Regions from separate parts of the Homo sapiens genome. Here region 1 is linked to region 2. Evidence: promoter capture Hi-C in human tissues and cell types (Jung and others, 2019). All regions are on one chromosome and are shown on one strand. Each heading gives the region's core, a stretch centred on a gene start or on the middle of the fragment in contact. The rest is flanking DNA. Distances are from core to core; before and after follow the strand shown. Region 1 overlaps GRAMD2A (GRAM domain containing 2A). Region 2 holds the start of HEXA (hexosaminidase subunit alpha).

What was found. The method cuts DNA at HindIII sites, captures the fragments that hold promoters and counts their contacts. A contact is called where the count stands out against the background at its distance.
Region 1: a contact is called between a fragment that was not itself captured here and the fragment with the promoter of HEXA in region 2, in 1 of the 25 tissues and cell types used here (aorta).

The regions. Positions count from the first base shown.
Region 1 is chr15:72,190,327-72,194,629 of GRCh38, reverse strand. The region is part of intron 1 of GRAMD2A (GRAM domain containing 2A); the gene reads left to right. Among named protein-coding and RNA genes, the nearest start is that of GRAMD2A, 5.3 kb to the left of the region's middle. RefSeq lists an enhancer at 385-1,008. The HindIII fragment of the contact is 5,455 bases long and covers 1-4,303 here.
Region 2 is chr15:72,373,574-72,377,487 of GRCh38, reverse strand. It overlaps HEXA (hexosaminidase subunit alpha), which reads left to right and starts at 1,474. Exons shown (of 14, transcript NM_000520.6): 1 at 1,474-1,768. The coding sequence starts at 1,516. HEXA-AS1 (HEXA antisense RNA 1) reads right to left here and starts at 1,375. Exons shown (of 1, transcript NR_027262.1): 1 at 1-1,375. RefSeq lists enhancers at 715-764, 1,095-1,234, 1,126-1,682, 1,683-2,238. The HindIII fragment of the contact is 13,358 bases long and covers 1-3,914 here.

The DNA.
Region 1 (4,303 bases), core at 1,092-3,591, 180 kb after region 2:
AAGCGTCATCATAGGTATTTCCTAAGTTTTAAGTTCTGGATAAAAACTCCACTGGTGCCTACTATCTCCACCATGAACTCTGTTAAGGAACCTTCACTTTTGTATATGCCTGCTGTTTTCTCTTCATTTCCCTGTCTTCTGCATAAGCATGCCCTCTTGCTAAGTAATTCAAGCATAAGGTCTTGGAATACTAAAATCATAAGCTTAGGAGAAAGAATAAAATAAAACTTATTCCCCGTCCCCCCAAAATCCCTCCAATTTCCTTCCCAGTTTCGGAAGATGTTTCATTTATTTTCAGAATTTCTCCTTTGCTGTGGCTACCCATGGAAAGCCCTTGAAGTCAAGAACGGTGTAGCATTCCACTCTGACATCTGGTGTGAGCCTGAACACCAGAAAATAATTTTTCTCCCTTCCAGGAAAGTGAAAATGATTTCCCTCAATTCTGCAGCCATCTCTGATGCAAGTGTGAGTTTCACTTGAGGTCGGCCTTGGCCACTGTGCGCTATTCACCTGGACTTCAGGGCATCAGTCTGTCACCACCTGTCATCACCAACCTTTGAAGCTTTAATTCCCCAGTTATTTGCTAATGTGGGAAAGGAAGGAGGAGGGGGAGGGCAGAAGCCCCTGGGAATGGAGCTTCCTGTGTAATTAAGAAGTAACAGCCTCCCTGAGGTGCACCTGCGTGCTCCGGCACAGATTCCAAAAGACAGGCATTGTTCTCAGGGATATAAGCCACTGTAGGAGAAAGTGATTCCTCGCCCCTCCTTCCCACTACTATACATTTTTATTAGTTTAGAAATGCACGGCCTGGCGCGTTGGCTCACACCTGTAATCCCAGCACTTTGGGAGGCTGAGGCGGGCGGATCACGAGGTCAGGAGATCGAGACCATCCTGGCTAACAGGGCGAAACCCCATCTCTACTAAAAATACAGAAAAAAAATTAGCCAGGCATGGTGGTGGGCGCCTGTAGTCCCAGCTACTCGGGAGGCTGTGGCAGGAGACTGGCGTGAACCTGGGAGGCGGAGCTTGCAGTGAGCAGAGATCACGCCACTGTACTCCAGCCTGGGCGACAGAGCAAGACTGCGTCTCGAAAAAAAAAAAAGAAATGCACAAGCCGGGTGTGGTGGCTCACGCCTGTAATCCCAGCACTTTGGGGGGCTGAGGCGGGTGGATCGCCTGAGGTCAGGAGTTTGAGGCCAGCCTGGCCAACATAGTGAAACCCTGTCTCTACTAAAAATACAAAAAATTTGCTGGGCGTGGTGGCGGGCACCTGTAATTTCAGCTACTAGGGAGGCTGAGGCAGGAAAATCGCTTGAACCCGGGAGGCAGAGGTTGCAGTGAGCCAAGATCACACCATTTGCACTCCAGCCTGGGCAACAAGAATGAAAAAAAAAAAAGAAATGATTGGTCATCATTTAGGACTGGAGGCGTGTTTTAATAACCTGTGGCGACTGAACCAATCTTTATTTATTTATTTATTTATCTATTTATTTATTTATTTTTGAGACGAACTGTCACTCTTGTTGCCCAGGCTAGAGTGCAATGGCACGATATCAGCTCACTGCAAACTCCGCCTCCCAGGTTCAAGCGATTCTCCTGCCTCAGCCTTCCGAGTAGCTGGGATTACAGTCATGTGCCACCACGCCCGACTAATTTTTTGTATTTTTAGTAGAGATGGGGTTTCTGCATGTTGGTCAGACTGGTCTTGAACTCCTGACCTCAGGTGATCCGCCCACCTTGGCCTCCCAAAGTGCTGGGATTACAGGCATTAGCCACTGCACCTGGCCGACTGAACCAATCTTTAAAGCCTTGTCATAAATTAGTGTTTCCTCAGTGATGTTTGTAATTACATTGTTAATTTTTAAGCAGTTTTTGGCTGGCTCTATTTCTTTTTAACCTAAAGTAAAGATCACTTGAAGAATTAGTTTAAATCAAACATGAATTGCTTTTCCTCCTAACATCTGTACATGGCACATCAATGGTATAGTAGTTAATTGTCGAGATCCTGCTGGTATTTCATTTCATTGCCTTACCCACCGCACAGCAGCGTGGGCAGTATGCCTGACCAAACAACTGTGACTGATTATTAGGATTTTTTTTCTCTCTTCTGTAGGAAAAAAGTTTAGATATTTCTAATATGTGTTAGAATTAATCAGATTACTCAAAACCTGCCAGTAATCACTCAGGCCACACAAAATGCTATTTTAAAATACATTTTGAATTTTTGAAGGATTACTTAGAAATTTTATTTTAAAATAACCCAGTGACAGTACTTCAGAATTGGTATTCCTATTGGGCTTCCTTCATTACCAGACAAGTTGAAACATGTTTATATTCTGAATTGCTAACTTTTTATTGTGGAAAATTTCAAACATATACAAAAGGAGAGAGAATAGTATAATAAGTGGCATGTACCCATCTCCTGGTTTTAGCAATAATCAAGTCATGGGTAAAGTTTGTTTCATATATACCTCCCTTCTCCCTGTCTCCTGGATTATTCTGAAGCAAATTGTAGCTATTATATTATTTTATCCAAAAATATTTCAATGTATATCTATAAAAGAGCCTTTAAAAAATATTTCTACAATATCATTATTACATCTAAAAAATGGCAGTAACTTCTTAATCAGATAGCTAGTCAGCATTTACATTCCCTCCATTGTCTCATAAATGTCTTTGTACCATTTAATAAGGATTCAAATGAAGTTTATACTTTGACTAAAGTCAAAGAGTTGCCATTTTGAATCTCTATATCTTTATCTCTTTAGTCTATGGTTTCCTCTTTTCTTCCTTTTCTTTTTTCCTTGCAAATTATTTGTTGAAAAAAACAGGCTATGTTTTCTATAACTTTTTCTGATGTGTTGATGTTGTTTAAACCATTCCTTTGATTTATGTATTTCCTATACATTGGGAGTTGGACCTACAGTCTCGGTCAGATTCTGATGGTATTGTGTGCTTCAAGAAGTATATAATATCAGTTATTTCTCTTTGAAGAATGTTAGCAGCCATTGATGATTATTTCATGCAGACCCATTATTTAATTAGGGACTGAAATATGGTATTAGTCTAATCCTACCAGTTTTTCATCATTTATTAGGAGACTCTTTCTATAAAAAGATGTGTTCCCAGCTGGGCACGGTGGGTCCTGCCTGTAATCCCAGCACTTTGGGAGGCCAAGGCAGGCGGATCACCTGAGGTCAGGAGTTTGAGACCAGCCTGGCCAACATGGTGAAACCCTGTCTCTACTAAAAAAAATACAAAAATTAGCTGGGCATGGTGGCGGGCACCTGTAATCCCAGCTACTCAGGAGGTTGAGGCAGGAGAATCGCTTGAACTCGGGAGGCGGAGGTTGCATTGAGCTGAGATCACACCATTGCACTCCAGCCTGGGCAACAAGAGTGAAACTCCATTTAAAAAAAAAAAAGATGTGTTCCCTCTTCAACCATTTGCTTATCCTGAGGTGTAGCCAGTACTAGAAAGGCAGAATAAATACTTGACTCTTATTTCTTAGTTTTCAAAATCGTGGTATGGGCTCTAGTAGCCACCAAAGGTGGCCAATGAGTCATTTCGGTGTATTATAATCTCATGGATTTAAACATATTTGATGTGTTTTAATCCATTCTTATTGATGCTCAAATGGTCCCATCTTTAAGTTGGTTCCTGAGTTCTTGAGCCATGACTCCAGGCTTCAATGACTTCTTTAGTTTCTGGTATGATTAGATGTTTTAGGCTCCTTTTTGCATTTCCTCAGATCCGGAATCAGCCATTTCCCCAAGGAGCTGCTTAATTAGAGGAGTATTTTCTATCATTTGGGGGTCATAGGCTACGTTGAGAGTCTAATAAAAGTGAAATGCTCTCTTCCCAGAAACATACTCCTTTGTTCAGACCCAACAATTTTGCCCAAAGTTCCAGGAGTTCACAGATCCACCCTCCAACTCTTGCCTGGACCTCAGAGGCATGTAATTTACATTAGATTGTCAATCTGCGTCCATAATGATGGAAGACTTGGGAGAATGGGAAATAACCAAGTGTCCCCATGTGAAAACAGAAACTGGAAAAGTTAATGAATCTTGCAATATAAGAAGACACAAGAGAACAGAGAGTTGTGGAGCAGACTTTGCCCTGGTCACACCAGCAGTGGAGATCCAGTTTTATTAAGGAAGGAACATGAGGACAAAGGTTTGTTCCTTGGTGAAGGATTATTAGCTAGAAGGTGGTCCATTTAGGTATTGGGAAGAACCTTTTTTTTTTTAGACAGAATCTCACTCTGTCGCCCAGGCTGGAGTGCAGTGGTGCAATCTCG
Region 2 (3,914 bases), core at 225-2,724:
CAAATTGCTTGATGAATCTCTGTATTGTCAGAATGTTTCTTTGATTTCCCATCAAAGCCATGTATGTGTAACTAGTAATTAGGTACCTACGACCTGAATATAAATTATCATTATTTCAGTAGCCCTTTATTTGTTTTTGAGAAAGGGTTTCACTATACTGCCCAGGCTAAACTTGAACTCCTTGGTTCAAGTGATCCTGCCGCCTCAGCCTCCTGAATAGCTGGGAGTAGCTGGGACTACAGGGATGTGTTATCATGCCCAGTGAAAGCCCTTTATTTTTAAAAGTTCATTTTCCTGATCTTTACATGTATTTTAATACTAAAATTAAATTTAAAAATTTTAAAAAGTACCTACTAACCAAATAATGCCACCCAATAACAATAGCATTATTTGTATTATGTTCTGGTAATATAGTGGTGAACAAGGAAGACAGGGTCTCTGATAACTGTGGAATTCTCCTTGATCACTTCTCAAGCCTCTCTTCCGGATACTATTTCTTGGATCTACAGCTGTCTTCCTTCCCCACTTCTGTAGTTCAGTCTCTCATTATTCTCTACCTCCAATAAAAAGGGGCCTCCTAACTGGTTTCTTATGCAACTACTCAACATGGTATTTCTAAAATGCAGATCTTTCGGGATGATTTTCAATTGCTCAGAGAATAAATTCCTTGACTTTCTACGTAAGGCCCTGCAGGACCAGGCCCCTGTCATTATCTCTGAGCACTCTCCATCTTGCACCCAAAGCCCCAGCAATATCTTACTGCTTTCAGTAAATACACACCGGGCTATGTGGGGTTTTGTCTGGGGAAAGGGGATGTGAGTTGTAACTAAGAGATTTATAGTCAATCTTGAAGGGAAGAGCTCATATTGGAGGCAATGGAATGCCTCAAGCTGGCTCTGAAAGTACACATTTTTTCCAGTCATAAGTAGATCACATTTGTGTGATCTTGTGATCCTCTCTCTAGCAGAGCCGTGCAGACTACCTACTTCCGGCCCTTTCTTGCCCCACGAAATTTCACATCACAACGACTTGTGGTTTTAATCCTCCGTTTTTCTGCTTCTGAAGTTACTTCAGCCTGGCAAGTCCTTTACCTCCCCGTAGGCCTGGCGAGCTGCATCACAACATTCAAGATTCACCCTAGAGCCATCTGGGAAACTTTCTTCTCCAGGTCGCCCTGCGTCCTCGCCTCCCCACCCCGTTCTTCTCGAGTCGGGTGAGCTGTCTAGTTCCATCACGGCCGGCACGGCCGCAGGGGTGGCCGGTTATTTACTGCTCTACTGGGCCCGTGAACAGTCTGGCGAGCCGAGCAGTTGCCGACGCCCGGCACAATCCGCTGCACGTAGCAGGAGCCTCAGGTCCAGGCCGGAAGTGAAAGGGCAGGGTGTGGGTCCTCCTGGGGTCGCAGGCGCAGAGCCGCCTCTGGTCACGTGATTCGCCGATAAGTCACGGGGGCGCCGCTCACCTGACCAGGGTCTCACGTGGCCAGCCCCCTCCGAGAGGGGAGACCAGCGGGCCATGACAAGCTCCAGGCTTTGGTTTTCGCTGCTGCTGGCGGCAGCGTTCGCAGGACGGGCGACGGCCCTCTGGCCCTGGCCTCAGAACTTCCAAACCTCCGACCAGCGCTACGTCCTTTACCCGAACAACTTTCAATTCCAGTACGATGTCAGCTCGGCCGCGCAGCCCGGCTGCTCAGTCCTCGACGAGGCCTTCCAGCGCTATCGTGACCTGCTTTTCGGTTCCGGGTCTTGGCCCCGTCCTTACCTCACAGGTGAGTCGGACTTGTCCCGCCCTGTTCCTGGGCCCTGAGAGTGCCTGCCTGGGGACAGTTCCCCCAGGGCTCCAGAGACGCCCTATGGGCTTTTGTCCAGCCCTCTGATCACAGGCACTCCACTTCCTCCTCGAGCTGCATTAGGTTTTCATCCAAAGATAACTACTATAGGACTACGGTTCAATCAGGAGATTAATTTATGGAAAATACTGTGCCAGCAGAAATCTAAGGTGATCCTTCTGACCGTGTTCAAGCTAGCCAGGGTCCTAGTGAGACTGTGAGCAAGGGCTGAGTAGAGACCAGAGAAAACACTCAAAATTGGGGAGACATAATACAAGAACTATGCAAAGTTACATACAAGTTTCTGGCACATAGAATGTTTGGCGGGCGGATCACGAGGTCAGGAGTTCGAGACCAGCCCGGCCAACATAGTGAAACCCCGTCTCTACCAAAAACACAAAAAATTAGCCAGGCGTGGCGGCGCGCGCCTGTAGTCCCAGCTACTCGGGATGCTGAGGCAGGAGAATCGGTTGAACCCATGAGGTGGAGGTTGTGGTGAGCTGAGATCGCGCCACTGCACTCCAGCCTGGGCAACAGAGCAAGACTCCCTCTCAGAAAAACAACCCCCCCCCCCAAACAAAACAAAACAAAACAAAAAAAGTGTAAATTGTGAAAGAAATCATAGAACATAAGGAAGTGAGTTTCCAGCGGCCACTTGGAATGGGATGGTAGATGTAATTAGCCGGGACTGAAAAGAGGGTATTCCAGGCAGGAAGAAGGGCTTGAGCAGAGGCACAAAGAATTATGATTGAGTTCAAAGTTCAGGTCTAGTGGATGTGATGAGTGGGGGCTGGGGATTGAGGAGGGATGAGGGTGGGGAAAATGTGGGGTTGAAGAGTCAAGAGCGCTTTAGACATTGGTTTCACATAAAATGGAAGGGGCTAACAGTTTTCTTTTAGGCAGCTATGTAATCAGTACTGAAAATTGTATTTGAGGATAATTATTCCACAGCACATTTGTAAGTCGAGCCAACAATGTAAAGGAATACAATTCTGCTGCATGGGTTCAAAATTTAGAAGTTTCTTGATAATCTGGAATCTAGCTCTTTGGTTATATTGTATAGATGTTATGGGGGTGGGAGCCACATTTACGGTTAAGTCTTGTAGTAATATTTTATATGATGTTTCAAGTGTGTTTAAATTACTTTCACAAAAGTTATCATTTGATATATAGAATTAAAAGCATTTAATTATACAGATGACCCTTAGAGAGTGACATTTGATTTGGGGAAAGAAACACAATCTCAGCATCAGGGTAGTCCTTAACTGGTAAAATGCATTAAGCTGGAGAGGATAAGAGGCCTGCTGTTGAGTGTGGTAGATCACATTTTCCTCTGAATCCTTCATGACAAATAATAGAGTGCCTTACCCAAGATTGGCACTCAGAATATGTTGATTTTGGTTTAGAAGAGTTTGAGCCTGGTTTATGGAAAAAAAAATCCGTCTAACTGGTATATGTCAATCCCAGTGCTGGGCACTCTGAAGGTTACAAGAAAAGTCTTAAGACCTAGGCCTAGGCTCTATAGTTCAATTGCGAAAATATGAAACAGAGGGAGGTACACAGTGAATTATAAGATTCTCAAAAGCTTTATAGGTTGTTTCCTACTATTGTATACATGAGAATAATTCCTTTCCTTTTTTTTTTTTTTTTTGAGACGGAGTCTCGCTTTATCACTCAGCCTACACTGAGGCTGAGTGCAGTGATACGATCTTGGCTCACTGCAGCCTCCGCCTCCTGGGTTCAAGCGATTCTCCTGCCTCAGCCTCCCGAGTAGGTGGGACTACACGTGCTTGCCACCACGCCCAGCTAATTTTTGTATTTTTAGTAGAGATGGGGTTTCACCATGTTGGCCAGGCTGGTCTCAAACTCCTGGCCTCAAGTGATCCACCCACCTCAGCCTCCCAAAGTGCTGAGATTACAGGCATGAGCCACCGCGCCATACCTAATTCCTATACTTCTAAATTAGGCCTTCACCTCCATTGCTATAGCACCATAGTTTAATCAAGTAGATAGAAATGGAGAGATTGTAAGATAATGGAATACTATAAATTCCCTAACAAAAGAGATTTAGAGCCAGATAAATTCA